Regions from separate parts of the Homo sapiens genome. Here region 1 is linked to region 2. The links are contacts of gene promoters, found by promoter capture Hi-C in human tissues and cell types (Jung and others, 2019). All regions are on one chromosome and are shown on one strand. Each heading gives the region's core, a stretch centred on a gene start or on the middle of the fragment in contact. The rest is flanking DNA. Distances are from core to core; before and after follow the strand shown.

Region 1 (5,164 bases), core at 547-3,046, 100 kb before region 2:
GGTTTGAATTTTTTTTTTTTTTTTGAGATGGAGTGTCACTCTTGTTGCCCAGGCTGGAGTACAGCAGTATGGTATCAGCTCACTGCAACCTCCGCCTCCCAGGTTCAACCAATTCTCCTGCCTCAGCCTCCTGAGTAGCTGGGATTACAGGCGCGTGCCACCACGCCTGGCAAATTTTTGTATTTTTAGTAGAGATGGGGTTTCACCATGTTGGTCAGACTGGTCTCGAACTCCTGACCTCGTGAGCCACCACGCCTGGCCTTAATTTTTTTTTATTAAATGCAAAACATTTAGGTGGTTCTTCAAAAGGCTTAGAGTATGTTGGGGAAATCTTTGTTTTAAGGATTCCCTAATCCGGTAATACCAAGTCTACCATCAGCACCCCTGTGACCTTGGACAAATTACTTGATTCTCAGCCCCAGATTGTTCATCTGTTAAATGGAAACAAAAGCACCTGCCCCGTACAGTTGGGAAGATGAGAGATTGTCTCAAAAACTAGCCAAAGGGGCCGGGTGTGGTGGCTCATGCCTGTAATCCCAGCACATGGGGAGGCGAAGGCAGGGGGATTGCTTGAGCCCAGGAGTTCAAAACCAGCCTGGGCAACATAGCGAGACTCCATCTCTACAAAAAGAATAAATGCACAGCCGGGCGCGGTGGCTCACGCCTTTAATCCCAGCACTTTGGGGGGCCGAGGCGGGCGGATCACGAGGTCAGGAGATCAAGACCATCCTGGCTAACAAGGTGAAACCCCGTCTCTACTAAAAATACAAAAAAAAAAATTAGCCGGGAGTGGTGGCGGGTGCCTGTAGTCCCAGGTTCTCAGGAGGCTGAGGCAGGAGAATGGCGTGAACCTGGGAGGCGGAGCTTGCAGTGAACCGAGATGCCGTCACTGCACTCCAGCCTGGGCGACAGAGCAAGACTCCGTCTCAAAAAAGAATAAATGCACAAACAAATAGCCAAGCTACTGCCCCTGGCAAGCACTCATTAAAGTCGCTAGTAACAACAGTAAGTCATGGTTAAAAGTGAGCGAATGCCCCATCCCACAGCCCATTGATAACAGATGGGGTCATATGCTTCCAGGATTTTGCTTTTTTCTTTCTTTTTTTTTTTTTTTTTTTTTTGAGACGGAGTCTCGCAGTCTCGCTCTGTCACCCAGGCTGGAGTGCAGTGGCGCAAACTCGGCTCACTGCAAGCTCCACCTCTTGGGTGCATGCCATTCTCCTGCCTCAGCCTCCCGAGTAGCTGGGACTACAGGCACCCGCCACCACGCCCAGCTAATTTTTTGCATTTTTAGTGGAGACGGGGTTTCACCATGTTAGCCAGGATGGTCTGGATCTCCTGACCTCGTGATCCGCCAGCCTCGGCCTCCCAAAGTGCAGGGATTACAGGCGTGAGCCACCGCACCTGGCCGGATTTTTCCTTATAAACACAAAAAATAAGTAATTTTTGTTAATAAAAATGAGATCATGTTGAGATCATGCTGAGTATGGTAGCTCGGATTATGCCTATAATCCCAGCACTTTGGGAGGCTGAAGCAGGAGGATTACTTGAGCCCAGGAGTTTGAGACCAGCCTGGGCAACACAGACCTGTCTCTACAAAAAATTTAAAAAATTAGCCAGGTGTGATGGCACACACCTGTAGTCCAAGCCACTTGGGAGGCTGAAGCGGGAGGATTGCTTGAGCCCAAGAGGTTGAGGCTGCAGTGAGCCATGATCGCACCACTGTACTCCAGCCTGGGTAACAGAGCGAGACCCTGTTTCAAAAAAAAAAAAAAAAAATGGCTGGGTGCAGTGGCTCACGCCTGTAATCCCAGCACTTTGGGAGGCCAAGGCGGGCAGATCACGAGGTCAGGAGATCGAGACCATCCTGGCTAACACAGTGAAACCCCGTCTCTACTAAAAATACAAAACTAGCCAGGCATGATGGTGCATGCCTGTAATCCCAGCTACTCGGAGGCCGAGGCAGAAGAATCACTTGAACCCAGGAGGCGGAGGTTGCAATGAGCCGAGATCGCGCCATTGCACTCCAGCCTGGGCAACAAGAGCGAAACCATCTCAGAAAAAAAAGGCCAGGTGCGGTAGTTCATGCCTATAATCCCAGTACTTTAGGAGGCCAAGGCGGGTAGATCACGAGGTCAGGAGATCCAGACCATCCTGGCTAACACAGTGAAACCCTGTCTCTACTAAAAATACAAAATATTAGCCGGGTGTGTTGGCAGGCACCTGTAGTCCCAGCTACTCAGGAGCCTGAGGCGGGAGACTAGCTTGAACCCGGGAGGCGAAGCTTGCAGTGAGCTGAGATCGCGCCACTGCACTTCAGCCTGGGTGACAGAGTGAGACTCCGTCTCAAGAATAATAATAATAATAAAATAAAAATCACACCGTAATATACAGAATGTTTTGCAGCTTGTTTTTTTTTTTTTTTTTTTTTTAGAAGGAGTCTCACTCTTGTTAGCCAGGCTGGAGTGCAGTGGCACGATCTCGGCTCACCGCAACCTCTGCCTCCCGGGTTCAAGCGATTCTCCTGCCTCAGCCTCCTGAGTAGCTGGAATTAACAGGTGCCCGCCACCATGCCCAGCTAATTTTTTGTATTTATTAGAGACCAGGTTTCACCATGTTGGTCGGGTTGGTCTTGAACTCCTGACCTCAGGTGATCCACCTGCCTCGGCCTCCCAAAATGCTGGGATTACAGCCGTGAGCCACCACGCCCAGTCTGCAGCTTGCTTTTTTAAGTTACTATGCCCTGGGCTCCCTTCCATCTGGGTACACAGGTATCTACTGCTTCCTTATTTAGAGTCTACATAGCACTTCATGGTTATGAACACCCTTCTATCAGACACAGATTCTTTCTAGTTTTTCACTACCGTAAATAATAAGCCAATAGAGGGATGTTAGTTCAATGGCTTCTTTTCAAAGCAAGTTATCTTATCATCTCATTTGATTTTCACAGAAAACTTGCCAGAGAGGTGATATCTTTTTTTTTTTTTTTTGGAACAGAGTCTCGCTCTATCGCCAGGCTGGAGCGTAGTGGTGCAATCTCTACTCACTGCAACCTCCGCCTCCCGGGTTCAAGCGATTCTCCTCCTTCAGCCTCCCACGTAGCTGGGACTACAGGCACGCACCACCACGCCAGCTAATTTTTGTATTTTTAGTAGAGACAGGGTGTCACCATGTTGGGCAGGATGGTCTCAATCTCTTGACCTTGTGATCCGCCTGCCTCAGCCTCTTAAAGTGCTGGGATTACAGGCGTGAGCCACCACGCCCGGCCAATATCTTTTTAATTGGGGAAACTAACTTGGTAAGATGGGGAGACTTCCCAAGAATCCCGATAGTCGTGGTAGAGGGACCTTGGGACTGTCCCCTTCAGTTACATTTCGTCATGCATCTGGAGCAGGGGCTGCAACTGTGATGTACTCATGTGAAAGGAGGCCAGCATAAGACAAGTGGCATTTGGCTTCAGTGTCAAGGCGAGAACAGGGAGTCAGGGGTGCATGGTTCCAATGAATGAATTGGTAAGACATTCATGGTCTCTTGGGGCCAGACCCCGACCACTGGAGTGGTTGGTAGGCAGTCAAGGTCTGAGCATGCGTGAGTTTCCACTTTTTTTTTTTTTTTTTTTTTTTTTGAGACAGAGTTTTCCTCTTGTCACCCAGGCTGGAGTGCAATGGCACAATCTCGGCTCACTGCCACCTCCACCTCCCAGGTTCAAGCAATTCTCGTGCCTCTGCCTCCTGAGTAGCTGGGACTACAGGTGCATGCCACCATGCCTGGCTAATTTTTTGTATTTTCCATGGAGACAAAGTTTCATCATATTGGCCAGGCTGGTCTCGAACTCTTGAGCTCAGGTGATCTGCCCGCCTCAGCTTCCCAAAGTGCTGGGACTACAGGAGTGAGCCCCTGCACCAGGCCAAGCTTCCACTCTTCAAGAGAAGCAAGGAAATGTACATTTTTATGTAAAATCTCCTAGATAACACATGTTGCCAACCAACTCAGAAATATTTAGTCCTCACATGCCAGATTGTGACTCTTGCTTCAGGCCCAAACTTAATTTTCTACTTTTGATTATAAAACAGGGATCTAAAATGTGAGGTGTGCAGCTGGTACCTGGCCCAGCAGGCACTCTGGTGATAGCCCTGAATCCCCCGACTGTATCACCACCTTGTGAGGTTAAGTGGCACTGAAAAGACCATTTCATTTTGTGGCTGTTCCCTAACACCTTCCAGGGCTTTTCATCTACTGGGCACTGGTAAGCAAGTCTTAACTCTTTACCCTCTCCTTAATACATGCCTTCTGCCCACCCAGGCTACAGCTTTGGATAAGTTCCCAGTGACTTTGCTGTGCTTCAGGTAAAGATCGCAATGAATTCCGGAAAACTATTGTTCTGTTCTCCACTTTCTCCATCTCCCTTGTCCTCGCCTCCTTTCTAGTACAGTATAATGGTTAAGAATGGGAGTCCTGGCCAGGTGTGTTGGCTCACACCTGTAATCCCAGCACTTTGGGAAGCCGAGGCAGGCATATCACCTGAGGTCAGGAGTTCGAGACCAGCCTGGACAACATGATGAAAGCCCGTCTCTACTAAAAATACAAAAAAAAAAAAAAGCCAAGAGTGGTGGCACGTACCTATAATTCCAGCTACTCAGGAGGCTGAGGCATGAGAATCGCTTGAACCCGGGAGGTGGAGGTTGCAGTGAGCCAGGATTGCGCCACTGCACTCCAGCCTCGGCAACAGAGCTAGATTCCATCTCAAAAAAAAAAAAAAAAAGAACGAGACTCTACAACCACACTGCTTCTGGTCCCAGCTGTCTAGGACCAGCAGATGGCAGTGTAGTCTTGGGCAGGTCACCTTACCTCTCCATGCCTGTTTCCTCATTTGTAAACTGGAAGAAATGCTTAACTCAGAAAATGTTAGAATGTTAAATAGGATTCTCTGTTGGTCTCCTCTTACCTTGCCAGGGGCCGTGCCGTTAGTTACTAGTAGTACAAAGACAAGTAAACCACAGTCGTTGCCATAGAGGAGCATGCCCTTAACCTAACTACAGTCGCTGATTTCTGGAAAACGTGCTCAGAAATGAAATTTTTGAGGCCGGGCATGGTGGCTCACGGGAGGCTGAGGCGGGCAGATCACTTAAGGCCAAAAGTTCGAGACCAGCCTGGCCAACATGGT
Region 2 (4,463 bases), core at 1,202-3,701:
AGGGAGGACGCTCCCGGGGCCCAGAGGCAGGACTGTGGCGGGCCGGGCCTCGCCTCACCCGCCCCCTCCCCCCACTCCAGGCCCCCTCCACATCCCGCTTCGCCTCCCTCCAGGACTCCACCCCGGCTCCCGGACGCCAGCTGGGCGTCAGACCCCACCGGGGCAACCTTGCAGAGGACGACCCGGGGTACTGCCTTGGGAGTCTCAAGTCCGTATGTAAATCAGATCTCCCCTCTCACCCCTCCCACCCATTAACCTCCTCCCAAAAAACAAGTAAAGTTATTCTCAATCCATCCTCTTGCAGCACAGAGTCTCTTTTAAAATTTGTTGTGTATCTCTTTTGGCCCCTGTGTGCTGCGACGTCTCTTTTTGTCATTTGTCCATCGGGTGTTTACCGAGGACTGTACCCAATGCTGGACCCTGGGAACATGAGGACCAATGACACAGAGCGCCTGAACAGGAGTTAGAGTTTGGTGGAAAGAACAAGTCCTCAATTGTGATTAGGAGAGCAGATCCTATTTAAAAGCTCTCTACTCCTGATAGTTGTTGTTTTTAAGCCTTGATGAGGTTTGAACTCATGATGATGATGATGATGATGATGATGACCATGACCAGCAACAACATTTGATATTCTGGTCAATTAGTATCTGCCAACCTTGAGATGTGGAGTCTAATATCACTCCATTTTATAGAATGGGAAACTGAGGCTTGTAGAGGTCAAATTATTTCCCCAAGGTCACAGCCGTTGAGTGGCCAAGTTGGATCACACTCCAGGTCTGTCCCGACACGTCAACATGGAGTGGGAGGCCTTGCTTATCTGGAAGAGGATACTCTTCAGCATTCCGAGGACAGGAATTAAGCCCCAAAGCTCCTGTGGGCCGCAAAGGGTTCTCACGAGCTGCACGCCCAGCAGGACTTTAGACCCAAGTGAATCCCTGGTGGGACCCCCAGGTTCTATTTGCTTTCTAGCTCCTAGCCACAGCAGGGGAGAAACAGACCAAGCTGAGCGGAGAAGCCTGTAAGTCCTGTGTTTTCCTCCAGACGGTAGCAAGTAGTGGCAGTAGACAGCCTGGGAGTGAGGGACTTCCCAACGCTGTCAAAGACCTTAGGGAACCCAGATTCTGGGGCCATTATCGTAGGGACAAATACCCGCCCCACACCTCCTCAACCCCAGAGGGCTCACTGCAGCCCAACCCTGCAGCTCCCTAGTCCTACTGCAGGGCCACAAGAGAAGGCAAAATGGTGTTGTGTCTTCATTCTTCTATTTTTATTTTTTTTTTTTTGAGACAGGGTCTTACTTTGTTGCCCAGGCTGGAGTGCAGTGGCACGAACATGGCTCACTGCAGCCCTGACCCCCCGGGCTCAAGTGATTCTCCTGCCTCAGCCTCCCGAGCATCTGGGACTACAGGTGTGCGTCACATGCCTGACTGATTTTTGTATTTTTTGTACAGATGGGGTTTCATCATGTTGCCCAGGCTGGTCTCGAACTCCTGAGCTCAAGTGATCTGCCCGCCTCAGCCTCCCAAAGTGCTGGGATTACAGGTGTGAGCCACTTCGCCCAGCCCATTTTTATTTTTTTATTATTATTCTTTGAGATATTAATAATAAAAAATAATAATAAATAATATTTTTATTATTATTATCACTCTGTCACCCAGGCTGCAGTGCAGTGGTGCGATTTTGGCTCACTGCAGCCCGGAACTCCTTGGACTCAAGCGATCCTCCCACCTCAGCCTCCTGGGTAGCTGATACTACAGGTCCACACCACCACACCTGGCTAATTTGTGTGTGTGTGTGTATTTATTTTATTTTTTATTTTTTTAGTAGAGATGGGGTTTTGCCATGTTGCCCAGGCTGGTCTCAAACTCCTGGCCTCAAATAATCTGCCTGCCTCGGCCTCCCAAAGTGCTGGGATTACAGATGAGCCACCACACCCGGCCTAACATTTTTAAAATTATAAACCCACTTCATACGTGTGACAATCCTGTGCAGTGGGTGCTGCTTTCACCCACCCCGCTTTACAGATGAGGAAACCAGGTGCTTTGAGATTAAAGAGATGGCAGTGCTAGGACTCAGAGACACCCTGGCCCCAGGGTCTGTGGACATGACCACTGCCTGAACTGCCTGCGAGGATGCTCCTGACCCGTTAGCCTTAGGGTTATGGGCCCAGCATGCTCCCACCGTACAATTTGCTGTAAGAGGGACACACACGGGGCTTGGAGTACCCCTGAGGCTTGCCAAAGGTTGGGGAGGCAGAATTGTGCTGCGGGGGGTGAGGGGGGAAGGGACAGGAGCCAGCCAGGGACAATGTGGCCCTACCTTCTCCCTGGAGAGACCTCAGCTCTCTGGAATTCATCTATATTTAGCAGGTGGCTGGACAGGAGGCAGATAAGCAGAGCCTGGGGAGGGGGGAGGTCCCCATATATAGTGGGAAGGACAGGACCCCACTCAGTCCCTCTTTGGGTGACCTGTGCCTGCTTCGTGCCTGGTGTGACGTCTCTCAGGATGCCTGAGCCGGGGAAGAAGCCAGGTAGCTTTAGGACTGGGGTTGGGTCTAAGTGTGGGAGCAGGGGGGTGTCTACAATTGGGGAGCAGGGCTAGGAGGGAGTTCTTGAGGGGGTTGACGAGGACGTGGCCTCTGAGCCCCAGGACAGGGGCAGCCAGTCCTCCAGGGTCCTTTTTTGATTCTCGGTTTCTTTTTCCCATCCCTCTGATGAGAGGTGAAGGTAAACCCAAGGTCAGGGACGCAGAGAGGGGACACAGCCAAGACAGGAAGCACCCGGGGTCAACCCATTCTGAGAATGCAAAGGGACCCCTTCCCTGTCCCATTGCCTTCACCTTCCACAGCAAGGTTCCCCGCGGACAGAGCCCACGTTTAGTATGGAGCTGAGCCAGGCTCACGGCATGCCTTCAGACCAGTCTCTACCCACTATGGGTCTCAGTCTCCCAACCTGGGGTGCCGGGGGTGGTGGTGGCATTGGGTTGGTTCCTCCTGGCTGTGACATTATCTGCTTCATGAGCCTGTACGGTGTGGCCCCCATGTTGAGGGTGACACAGCCCCTCTTCTCTGAGAGAGGACAGTCAGGAGCCCCTGAACCCAGGCCAAGGGCAGGGAAAATCACAGCCCAGGGACCTGGGCCTGGGCTGTGCCCTTATGAAGGTTGTCCAGGGCAGAGATCCAGGTCCCCATCCCCCAGCGCCCTCCCAGGCCAGCTTTATCTCAGTTGCTGATACCCAGCCTGAGGTCCTTGGAGGACAAATTTGGCCACATTCCAAGTAGGCAGACTTCCCCGCCCCCTGCCAAGGGCCCGAAATGGTTGGGGGAAAGGGAGCTGGGTTCATCACGGGTGTCTCCAAGCAGGGAAAGTGGACACATGCAGAAAAAGTCTTGTTGGGAGGTCAGGACCACAGCCCTGGCTCTCCCGACTGCTAGCTGTGTGATCTTGGAGGAGCCGCTTAGCTTCTCTGAGCCTCAGTGTCCTCCTCTGAGAAATGAACAGAATAACTGCAACTACCTCAGAGAACTGGTAGAGTATTACGTGAGGGGATGCATAGAAAGTGCTAGCACAGTATTTACTGAGAGGGGCTGCAGGGGCGGGGTGCACGCTCCAACCAGGGGCCGCTGTAGCCTCCACCTGGCCCTTCAGTCTCAGCTTTTAGCAAGAAGCCACGGTCAGTGGAAGTGGCCGCAGGCAGCCCTGCCGTGTTCGAGGCCGAGACAGAGCGGGCAGGAGTGAAGGTGCGCTGGCAGCGCGGAGGCAGTGACATCAGCGCCAGCAACAAGTACGGCCTGGCCACAGAGGGCACACGGCATACGCTGACAGTGCGGGAAGTGGGCCCTGCCGACCAGGGATCTTACGCAGTCATTGCTGGCTCCTCCAAGGTCAAGTTCGACCTCAAGGTCATAGAGGCAGGTAAGATCCTGATCAGCCTTCCCTGAGGTTTGGGCTGCTGGGGGAGGGGCAGCCCAGCGACTCTCCATCCATCCAGGGAACAGGAGGTGCTTTCACACTTTCTTGCCTTTGCTGTGGCTGTGCCCCCCGCCAGGAACGCCCTTTCCCCCTTTTCTGCACATGACCTCTCTGAGTACCCCCATGTGCCATCCTGGCTTGTTCCAGCCATGGGGTAGGTGGGAGAGATGAACAAGACACAACCCCACTCTCCCCCTGCAGACCTCCCTGGGGAGATGACCCTGCACAGACGGCCGGGAAGCCCCAGGAGCTGTGGATGAGGGGAGTGCAGCCCAGTCTGAGGGGCTGCTCTAAGGCTGGGGCAGAGCAGGGATGGACCTGGAGCTGTTCAGGGCAGATGCAGAGGACATGGGAACTGATGGCCTGGGACGGGGAGGAGAATGTGAGAGGCAGGCTGGCTCTCCAGCTCAGCATGAGCTGCCTCTGAGGGGCCCAGGCAGCGGGAGGACAGCCATGGCAGACTTTCCTCATCCACAGCGGGCTCATGGGTCC

The links. Contacts are between HindIII fragments. The study calls those that stand out against the background at their distance.
Region 1: a fragment that was not itself captured here is called in contact with the fragment with the promoter of MYBPC3 in region 2 in 4 of the 25 tissues and cell types used here (heart left ventricle, hippocampus, liver and 1 more).

What each region holds. Positions count from the first base shown.
Region 1 is chr11:47,454,044-47,459,207 of GRCh38, reverse strand. No RefSeq gene overlaps it. Among named protein-coding and RNA genes, the nearest start is that of RAPSN, 7.5 kb to the right of the region's middle. RefSeq lists an enhancer at 3,296-3,795. The HindIII fragment of the contact is 7,589 bases long and covers 1-5,164 here.
Region 2 is chr11:47,350,690-47,355,152 of GRCh38, reverse strand. It overlaps MYBPC3 (myosin binding protein C3), which reads left to right and starts at 2,451. Exons shown (of 35, transcript NM_000256.3): 1 at 2,451-2,530; 2 at 3,648-3,914. The coding sequence starts at 2,506. It overlaps SPI1 (Spi-1 proto-oncogene), which reads left to right. Exons shown (of 5, transcript NM_003120.3): 5 at 1-293. RefSeq lists enhancers at 2,827-3,807, 3,808-4,463. The HindIII fragment of the contact is 22,693 bases long and covers 1-4,463 here.